Linked DNA regions of Homo sapiens: all the other regions are linked to region 3. Evidence: promoter capture Hi-C in human tissues and cell types (Jung and others, 2019). All regions are on one chromosome and are shown on one strand. Each heading gives the region's core, a stretch centred on a gene start or on the middle of the fragment in contact. The rest is flanking DNA. Distances are from core to core; before and after follow the strand shown.

Evidence for each region. Contacts are between HindIII fragments. The study calls those that stand out against the background at their distance.
Region 1: a contact is called between a fragment that was not itself captured here and the fragment with the promoter of UTRN in region 3, in 1 of the 25 tissues and cell types used here (spleen).
Region 2: a contact is called between a fragment that was not itself captured here and the fragment with the promoter of UTRN in region 3, in 3 of the 25 tissues and cell types used here (bladder, pancreas and spleen).

Annotation. Positions count from the first base shown.
Region 1 is chr6:144,230,288-144,233,685 of GRCh38, reverse strand. No RefSeq gene overlaps it. Among named protein-coding and RNA genes, the nearest start is that of TRL-TAA1-1, 15 kb to the right of the region's middle. The HindIII fragment of the contact is 8,996 bases long and covers 1-3,398 here.
Region 2 is chr6:144,328,264-144,331,337 of GRCh38, reverse strand. The region is part of intron 2 of UTRN (utrophin); the gene reads right to left. Among named protein-coding and RNA genes, the nearest start is that of UTRN, 44 kb to the right of the region's middle. RefSeq lists an enhancer at 1-606. The HindIII fragment of the contact is 5,071 bases long and covers 1-3,074 here.
Region 3 is chr6:144,283,818-144,287,024 of GRCh38, reverse strand. UTRN (utrophin) reads right to left here and starts at 1,690. Exons shown (of 75, transcript NM_007124.3): 1 at 1,204-1,690. It overlaps LOC124901418, which reads right to left and starts at 527. Exons shown (of 1, transcript XM_047419641.1): 1 at 1-527. The coding sequence starts at 354. RefSeq lists silencers at 1,751-1,850, 2,061-2,120 and an enhancer at 2,251-2,320. The HindIII fragment of the contact is 2,482 bases long and covers 1-1,973 here.

The sequences.
Region 1 (3,398 bases), core at 197-2,696, 53 kb after region 3:
GGCAAAGTCTTGTTCAGTCACCACCCATCAAGTTTACACCAAGCAAATTTGCCAAATGACCAACTTATCAGGTTTATCAATTTTACTTACATATTTATTAGCCCTATCAGGAATATTTTCATAGTTCTATCAGCTTTAGATTTTAAGTTTAAGACCATCTAAAAGTAAATCAGAATTTAGCTAAAATGATCTTCTATATTAAGAAGAAAATATGGACTAAAGGATTCCCATAGGAGATGCTGAAATTTTGAAAAGTTGAACATCTTGTGAAAGCCCATAGTGAATTTAACATTCTTATTAAATTCACTATTAGCAAATTTTGTAAATTCATGTAAATCTGATATGTCAGATTATTCTATAAGTTAGCTTTCAGAAAACTGGCTTTCAGTGAGTGGGAATTCTTGAAATTGTTTTCTCAGCTTCTTCTTGTGAGAAAGAAGGATTTTTTTTAATTATCTAAAACAATTGCTTATGTGAGAATGAGTTATACCCTAGTATTTTCCACCAAGATTTCCTTGTATAGAATGCAATTTGGAGATTTCATTTTGAAAACATTTAAAATAGAAAGGGCAGGAATAAAGTGGATTAAAATATGAACCACTTGTGAGAACCAAGGCTTTTTCCCCAGGGCCTGGGAGGTGCTCCCCGGCAATGAAACAATAAACTTTTGCAGCAGAAAAAAAATTTAGCAAAACTTGGCAACTATGGTGGAGTAAGAGGTTGTACTCAACATTAAGGTCCCAATGCGATACATTTCCTAAGCATAAACAGTGATTGCCTTTATCCTTACAAAGTCAATTCAAGGTACTTATGTGGGGCATTTTTTGTTCATCTACCTGAGGAAAAAAAAAAATTAGAAAGCTCTTTCTACCTCATACTAGAATAGGAAATAATTTTTAGCAATCTTCCTTTTCTTTTTCCCCCCTTTTTTCAAGGAAAGAGGATTCAAATTTGTGGCTATGATTGTATTTTAAGCTACCTAAGAAAATTGCTCGTGAGAAAACAGTTGCCTTCTAAAAATAAACCAAAGCAACCTAATACAAACATCTCTAGCCCTGGCTTTGAAAGTTCTGTCTGAATTCCAAGCCTCTAGTTTTCAGTTTGTTTCTGAGTTTGTTGATGAACTAGCCAAGCCTAAGGATTGACATTGCAGGACTCCATAAAAATCCTTACAAATATACAGGTATGGTTGGTTGCTTTTGAAAAATAAAATTTCCCAGCTCATTCCACAATCTCAATGATCTCATACTGCTAGAGGATCTGGAAATACAGAGCCAAAGTTAAGGGTTCCAGCAGTCGGTTTCCAAAGCGTCATTGGAGTGGGCTAAAGGTGCACATTAGTTAGGCTTTTACACCTCCTGTTCCTTTTCAAGAGCGTGATTAATTACAGTGATTTATCTGTGAAAAGTGCAGCTTGGAGTTGGATGTGGGGAAGCCACAAAATGGTGTCAATGCTTCAGCCTGGAGTAAATGGTGAAATATATTTAGCAAGCAATAATGCCAGGCACTGAGAAACAGAAATAAATAGAAGAAACTGTCTTTACATGAATAGAGAACTTTACACAATACCATGTATTCACAAAAAGGAAATAATTATAGAAAATACAAACAGAGGGAAAAAAAAACAGAAAGTCTTCCAAGTTCCAAATTTCCATTCTGATTCTAGCTCCAAAACGGCAGGTCAGTTTCTCAGGAACTTTATTCCTTCCCATTTTCCAGCCTCTCTTCATGTGTCAGTGACAAATTCTAGATAAAATGAAAAAGTGGCTTAGATGATAATACCTTCCCGGGTCAAGGCCAATGTGAAGATTCAAGCCAGGGTTAAGATTGGAGTTAGTGATTCCCTTCCTTTTCCCAGATGCGCCTAAAGAAGGACTTTGGCAGGACTGTGGAGCCTGACATAAAGAAGGTTTTCCCTTCCAAAAAATGCTGCTTTCCTAGTTTTGCTTTTCTCTAACATAGATTGGGCTTGCACACAAGTATTAATTTACTTCAAAGGACTTGGAAAGTCTAATCAAACAACTGACTTTACAACTGACTTTGCCAAGGAATGCAAACAAAAGCCAGCCAAATTAGTTTGTGTGCAGAGATATATCCAAGGATATATCTAATATCACTTAAATGTGAGCTTTCTTGGCCTGGCAAGGTGGCTTACGCCTGTAATCCCAGCATTTTGGGAGGCAGAGGTGGGCAGATCACTTGAGATTAGGAGTTCAAGACCAGCCTGGTCAACATGGTGAAACCCTGTCTCTACTAAAAATACAAAAATTAGCCGGGCATGGTGGCACATGCCTGTAATACCAACTACTTGGGAGGCTGAGGCACGAGAATCGCCTGAACCTGGGAGGTGGAGATTGCAGTAAGCTGAGATCACGATGCCACTGCACTCCAGCCTGAGCGACAGAGTGAGACTCCATCTCAAAAATAAATGCACTTTCTGTAGTACTCTCAGAGACCCTCTTCTCACCATCCTCTCTTCTTGCATAATTGTATTCAGGCCTTTGCTTCCTTTGCCACCTATATATTGATGACTCCCATCTTATTACTCTCTCGAGTTTTAATCTCATACATTTGAGGATCTTTGGAGAAGCAGAGAATGAGGGATCCAGAGCCTTCAGTTTTAGAAACTCTTTTGCTCCTTCAATGTTCTAAAGAAACTTAAAAATAAATATACATACAAGCTGTTGTCTGCTCTGCTTGGCACCATAATGTTCATATTATTGGCTGTATTTTCAATTAGATACATTTTCTTCTAAGCTGATTGATATGGTTTGGGTCTGTGTCCCCACCCAAATCTCATGTCTAGTTGTAATCCCCAATGTTGGTGGTTGGGCCTCGTGGGAGGTGATTGGATCATGGGGGCGGGCGTCCGTTTTGGTGCTGTTCTCATGATAATAAGTGTGTTGTCACATGATCTGGTTGTTTAAAAGTGTGTAGCACCTCCCCACTCTCTCTTCTCTCCTGCTCCAGCCATGTCAGATGTGCCTGCTTCCCTTGGCTTTCCACTACGATTGAAAGTTTCCCGAGGCCTCCCCTGCCATGCTTCCTATACAGCCTGTGGAACCATAAGCCAACGAAACCTCTTCTCTTTATAAATTACCCAGTCTCGGGTAGTTCTTCATAGCAGTGCAAAAACAGACTAATAATTGATATTCAGATAGACAGGTTGGGAATCTGACAATTTCCTTAAACTGCAGGCCAGCATTTCAGAGCAGAATTGACAGGATGTGTAATAAAAAGAAAACGCTAAAGCACTGGTATGCAGTGGATGGTTAGTGACTTCTTTCTTATATTTTTAATACTAATACTAATATTTATATTGATTTGTATTAATATCAGGTTGGATTAACATTGGCTGCAGGTGAAAGAAGCCTTCACCAAATAACAGTTTATTTCTG
Region 2 (3,074 bases), core at 162-2,661, 45 kb before region 3:
TTCTGTGCCAGGCTCTGAGGCTGACAGTGGTCCTATCCTAGATGATTTACAAGGTTAGTAAGCAAAATAAATCATATTTAGAAAATGTTTTTAATGACTGACCTTGTTAGATTCTTTACATGTAACTATCTTATTTCATGACATTATTTAGAAAAAACGTCTTTTAAAAACTTCCTAGGTCACCCAGAGGACAAAATAATTTAGAATCTGTTAACTCAGTAATTTTCACACTAATTATTGGCGGAGAGTCATGCCTCGGCTTCCTTTCAATGAACAGGTGGACAAAATTTAAGTAGCCACATTCTCAATGAGTCTTTACCTGCCTGTGACTGTCTGCCGTCTCCGTTTGTGGATTCAGATCTCACTTCCATTTCTCGTCGGCTCAGCGTGTCCTCCAAATGTAGTTAAGACTCCCAAACCAACAGTGCATGATTTCTGAAGTCACAAAGGGATGTGTACCCCTCGGCTGGAGAATGTGCTTTGATGGAGTCAAATTGAAAAACAGGGCCAAACAGTATGGGAACCGTGGATAGATGAGTTCCTCCCCAACTGCCCGGACCAGAATGGTCACATTCCTGCCTCTGTGAATAGCCCAATCCTGGTCTGCTCTGTCTGAGCCTCTGCCAGGTGTGGAGCCTGTCGCCTTAAAATCTGAAGACGTGTGACAACACTTATCTGCCTAGGAACAGCAAGGTATGCATTTCTACAAACACCACTGTTGAAACTGCTTGGTATACAGAGAAGCCAAGCACTTCCTCTCTTCTCAGGTTTTCCTTAGATTCAAGCCAAATAGAAATCTGAGTGAGGAAAAATGTTAAGGAATTTAGCTTTAGAAAAATTTGTTTTTATGTTTCTAACTCTTGCAAGAGAGCTTGTTCTCATCAATTTTATAACCTATTTTTCAACCTACATACTCCAGACTAATTCCTAATGCTTTTAGGGATCCATCCATTAATGCACTAAATAATACATGCCCTCAAACTAAGAGGTAAACCATGCCCCTTCAATCAGGATAAGAAATACTACTGAGTGAAATGCAGACTGCATCTTTCTGCCAATTTTAATCCACAGCCCTCTGCTCACTTCACTCCCAATCACCGGCCTCAATCAGGCTTTCTGTGGGCCAAGTTCTGCCAGCTTAGAGCCTGCACACAGCTCTGCCTTCAGCCAGTGCCCTCCACCACCTTGAACTATGGACTTGAATAGATTCCTCAAGAAGGCCTTCCCTGACCACTCAAACTATCACTCATTCCAGGTCCCTATGAAGTCCCCGAGTGATTTGCCATGACAGCACTGCAGAATGTCTACCCTCTAAGCAGTTAAACAACTATTTGTATGCTCTGCAATTTGATGTCTGGTTCTCGTACTAGTCTACACACTCAAGAGGCCAGATGCCATCATAGAGCTCATCAGTTTTGTCAACTACACCCAGTGCAGTGCCTGCCATATGGGGCATTCACCCAAGACTACTTTCCATTTAAAATTGTTGTCTCTTTTGAAACACTCTGTGGCACACTGCTGCCACTGCTGAGGTTTAAGGAAACAAATACTCATTTTAAGCCATCATCTTTATCAGGGGTTATTACCAGGCAGGGGGTCCATGAACTTGGACAGGAAAAGCAATTAGATCTTTTCACTGACCTCTAACAGAAATTTGCATTTCCTTCCATTGTGATGGCAGATCACAAAACACATTATTAGTGGTAGCTTTGACTGTGTCACCAGCAAAAATCATAACCATTTTCACATCACCTTACAACTCTAGCAGGTATCTTGAAAATACCATTTGGCTCGTTGTTATTTCAGAAGAGTAGAGAGGTTAGAGATGCTAGAAGTTCTTACTGAACACACTAATGAAACAGCAAATACTACTCTCTCACAGACTTTTTCAGTATTTTGGTAACTGTATGCATGGAATACCATGTACTCTATTTTATGCATTTAAAAATATTTGTCAGGCTGGGTGCGGTGCCTCATATCTGTAATCCCAGCACTTTGGGAGGCCGAGGCAGGCGGATCACAAGGTCAAGAGATCGAGACCATCCTGGCCAACATGGTGAAATCTTGTCTTTACTAAAAATACAAAAATTAGCTGGGCATGATGGCGTGCGCCTGTAGTCCCAGCTACTCGGGAGTCTGAGGCAGGAGAATCGCTTGAACCCGAGAGGTAGAAGTTGCAGTGAGCCGAGATCGCCCCCCTACACTCCAGCCTGGGTGACAGAGTGAGACTCCATCTCAAAAAAAAAAAAAAAAGGCCAGGTGCGGTGGCTCACACCTGTAATCCTAGCACTTTTGCAGGCCGAGGCAGGGGGATTACCTGAGGTCAGGACTTCAAGATCAGGCTGGCCAACATGGTGTAACTCCGTCTCTACCAAAAATACAAAAAATTAGCTGGGTACAGTGGCTTGCAACTGTAATCCCAGCTACTTGGGAGACTGAGGCAGGAAAATCGCTTGAACCTGGGAGGCAGAGGTTGCAGGGAGCCAAGATCGCACCACTGCACTCCAGGCTGGGCAACAGAGTGAGACTTTGTCTCAAAAAAAAATTTGTCTGGCTTCACTAAACTGCCAAAGGAGTCTATGGGGGCAATGAAGGGGGGATGAAGATAAAGAATAAAAACCCTGATCTATTAACAGATCACTATCATGAGATATAAACATCTGATGCACCAAGAAACAATTATATTTTGTTCTGAATGAATGTATTTTTACTCATTGTAAAAGGAAATAATATTTCCTTAAAAAGACTTTGCAAAATAAACAAAATTAATAAATTAAGATACTATTTTTAAAACAAATAAAGATATTTATTTCCTTGGTTTTAATACAAAACAACTCTAAAAGAAGAAATTCCCAAGAGACATTAACAAGTTTAAGAGTTACTTAACAGCTCAACTATTAGACACCCCTGACACTCCTAAGAATATTCTTGATTTGATGAAACTTCTGGTAACACCTGGAAGCTTAAAGTCATTTTCCTTTGTTTCATCACCTCTCTAAAAAGTTATCGTTCCTTTGTTAAGATGCTAGATAAGCCCAGTTCTAACCAACCCTTTGAATTACTCATGTCTGGGT
Region 3 (3,207 bases), core at 441-2,940:
GAGGGTCGGCTCAGACCTAGGGAATCCGGCCTCCCCCGAGCTCCGCGCGCTCTGGCCGCGGCGACCGCTGCACTGACCCTCCCAACCGCGGCAGGGGGAACTGGCCCGCAAGGCCCTGGTGATCCGGCTGACCTGAAGGCTGGGAAAGAGGAGGCCCTGTCCTGAACACCTCAGAGAGCGGGGCCGTGGAGTTAGAACCCGAGCTCTGCAGTTCCTTGTAAAATAAAGTGCTGGTCCCACAGCTCTCTCGGAGGTCGGGCAACGTTTTCTCCCTCCTCCTCGAAAAACGCACTGGAATGAGTCCCTTTCATAATCTGAGGCTTGGAGGAAAAAATCCTTTGAACAACCTGCCATCTGAAAGTTGCACAGCCTTCAATTGGTGCTTTGTTGGTTTTTAAGTGGCCTTGAGCAACCACAGCCTCGGACCCCGGGCCAAAGCGGGGCATGAATTACCTTGTCAGTTGCAGCAAGAGATCCCCAGAGTCCGGAAAAGGAGAGCCGGCGACTGCGCGGGACTACACACCAATGGGGCGCCCCCCTCCTCCTGTCCCCTCAGTCTCTCCAGGGCCGCTGCCAGGGAGCTTGGCGATCGCGCCACACTCTCCGGAGCCCCACCCTTGGGAGCAGCAACCACCCAGAGGTCAAGCACGTTCCCCGCCGGGCGGCTGGCTGGGAAGCGCTCCGCTGGCCGCCGACCACACAGCCACCCTCTGCCCACCCTCTCCTGTGGACACCGCCGGAGCCCCGCCTTCCCCGGGCCCGGGTGTCTGTGACAGACTCTCCTAAGAGGCCACGTCCCCTCTTGCAAATCACTGGCCCAGCGCCCTGCACCGCGCGATGCACGGAGGGCGACTCTGTCACCCCGGCGGGGAGGAAGATTAGGGGAGCAGGGAGGCAGCACAGAGCTGGTCAGATAAGTTTGGATCGTTCACAACTAGTACGGATCCCAAGGACCTCCACGCCCGAGCTCTCCACGCCTCCGGCATTCTCTCTCGCACCGCGGGGAGCTAAACTGAGGCCCCGAGGAAAGGGCACGCAAAAGTTACTCCCATCTTCGACTCTGGGACTTGGGAAGCAGCTCGGGACGCCGATCCCAGGCGGAAGAACCACAGAAAGAGCCATCCTCCTCCCGGCCCCCGCCCCATTCCCTCGGGGGCTGTAGTCACATTACCAGCCCGAGGCTTCAATAATGCATGGGCTTACCTGCTGCCCGCGGGCCTCCTCGCCTGCCGGTCGCCACCGCCGCACCCCGAGCTGGCCAAGGGCTCCTCTAGGAGTTTGACACGGAGTAACCGCGGGGGTGTGTGCGAGTGTTAGTTTGGTGGTGCGATGTATTTAAAAAAAAAAATAAAGCTTGGAGAAGCAGACACGAACCGAAATTTTAAAAAAAGAAAGAAAGAAAGAGAAATTGACACCCGACTGAAAACGCCCCTTACTTGTGCAATCTTCCTGCCTGGTAGTTCCGCCAAAAACAAAACAGTCAAAGCGCAAACCTGGAAGGGGCGCGCAGGCACCAACTTTGCCAAACGCTACAGAGTTTTCCGTTTGCAGAAATGACCCAAAAGAAGGGGGGCGCCGCTCCCCGTGATTCCCCAATCGGCTTCTGGAGCCAGAGGCTCCTCCTCGCCCCTCGGCGGGAGAAAGCCCGCGGCCGGCTGCTGCTGCCCGCTTCCCTGCTCCGAGGAAAAACGACTCCACAACTTTGTGCGCGAGAGAGGCTCGCTCCTTCGGCGGCTCCTCCTCCTCCTCCCCGCTGCGGGCCTGCCCCTTTGTTGGAGCCGAGCGCTGGAGGCGGAGGAGGGAGGGTGGGGCGCAGGACCGCTGGGTCGCGCGTTGCCGCCCCCACCCCCCGGGAAGGGGCTCGCCTCCGGGCAGCCAGGGGTCCGCTCTCCAGATGAGAAGGGTGCAGATCAGCGCCAGCCCTCCGGCCCGCGCCTCTGCAGCGCTCCGGCTCCCCCTCGGCGCTCTCGCCCCGCCGCCGCCGGCCCAGCAACTTTGTTCCGGAAGATCAGCCCCACTACGTTCCCGGGTCAGCGTCTGCCGGGCCTCGGCGGTCACCGCGGCCACCGCGTCGGGAACTTGGCGCCCCAAGTCACCTGACTGCGCGCCCCGTCAATCAGCGCCGGCCCTGCGCGCCCTCCCAGCCCGCAGCAGCCCGGCTCGGCGCTTGGCTGGCCTGGGGCGCGCGCTCCAGAGTGAACCGTGCGTGCCGGGAGCCGGGAGTCCGGAGACCGAACCAGAATGGATGCCTCGAGCAGACACAATTCCCCTTATTCAGATTATCCGAAAATGTGAGTCACGTCCCCTTAGGCAAAACAGGTCTCTAGTTAGGGTGATATTTTTTTAAGAGATAAATTCCAATCTGCCTTCCAACTCACCCCATCTCAGTTTGCTGACGTTGCTGATTTTTTTTTTACCCCTAGTTCCAACCGTATATTTATTTTACATTATTTCTCTAGTGTCGTTGTTAATATTGAAAAAGAAGTTTTCTCTTACATTAGTTTGTATTACAAGTAGTGTTTGCGCTGACCTTATTTTTCTGTTTTCCAATATGCACACACAAACGCACATCTGTTATAGAGCCTGTTCCAAGCTTGAGAGGTTGACCAAAAAATATCTGGGAAGAAATGAGCTCGTGATGTGTGTGCATTTTTCTTATTTACACATTTCATTGCTCGTGTGTTCCTGTGATTCTTTTACACGATCAGCACACGTGGGAGGGGAAAGAAAACAGCAACCTGAGTTCCTAGTTCGTATTAACAGAGAAAAGGATGGTTGATACTGGAGCGCCGGTTTATTGCTGGCTTAATATTTGAGTTAATTTACGCGGCAGTAAAGATTAAACCACTAGGGGCCTTAAACTAATTTTCAGAAAGAGTTTACTCGCCTTTTGTTATAGTGAAAGTTTCCCCCATCCATCCCTAAGTGCTCCAGGGAGGGGGCAGGTAGGAGATTCCCAAAAGAGACTCTTCCTTGTAAGGTTTCTAGGACAGTTTCCTTCCTTTTGATGATTTTCTACGTATAAGCCAAATAAAATCCAAAGGATTAACTTGAAATGGGTATGATTTTATTCATTCACTTCATTCATTCATTTAACAAGCATCAGTTTAGGGCTGTCAGGTTTGCTGGTTCTGTGGGTAAAGCAAAGATAAATCTGATAGTGATCTTACCCTTAAAGAACTTGGAATGTAGTAGGTGAGATAAGAC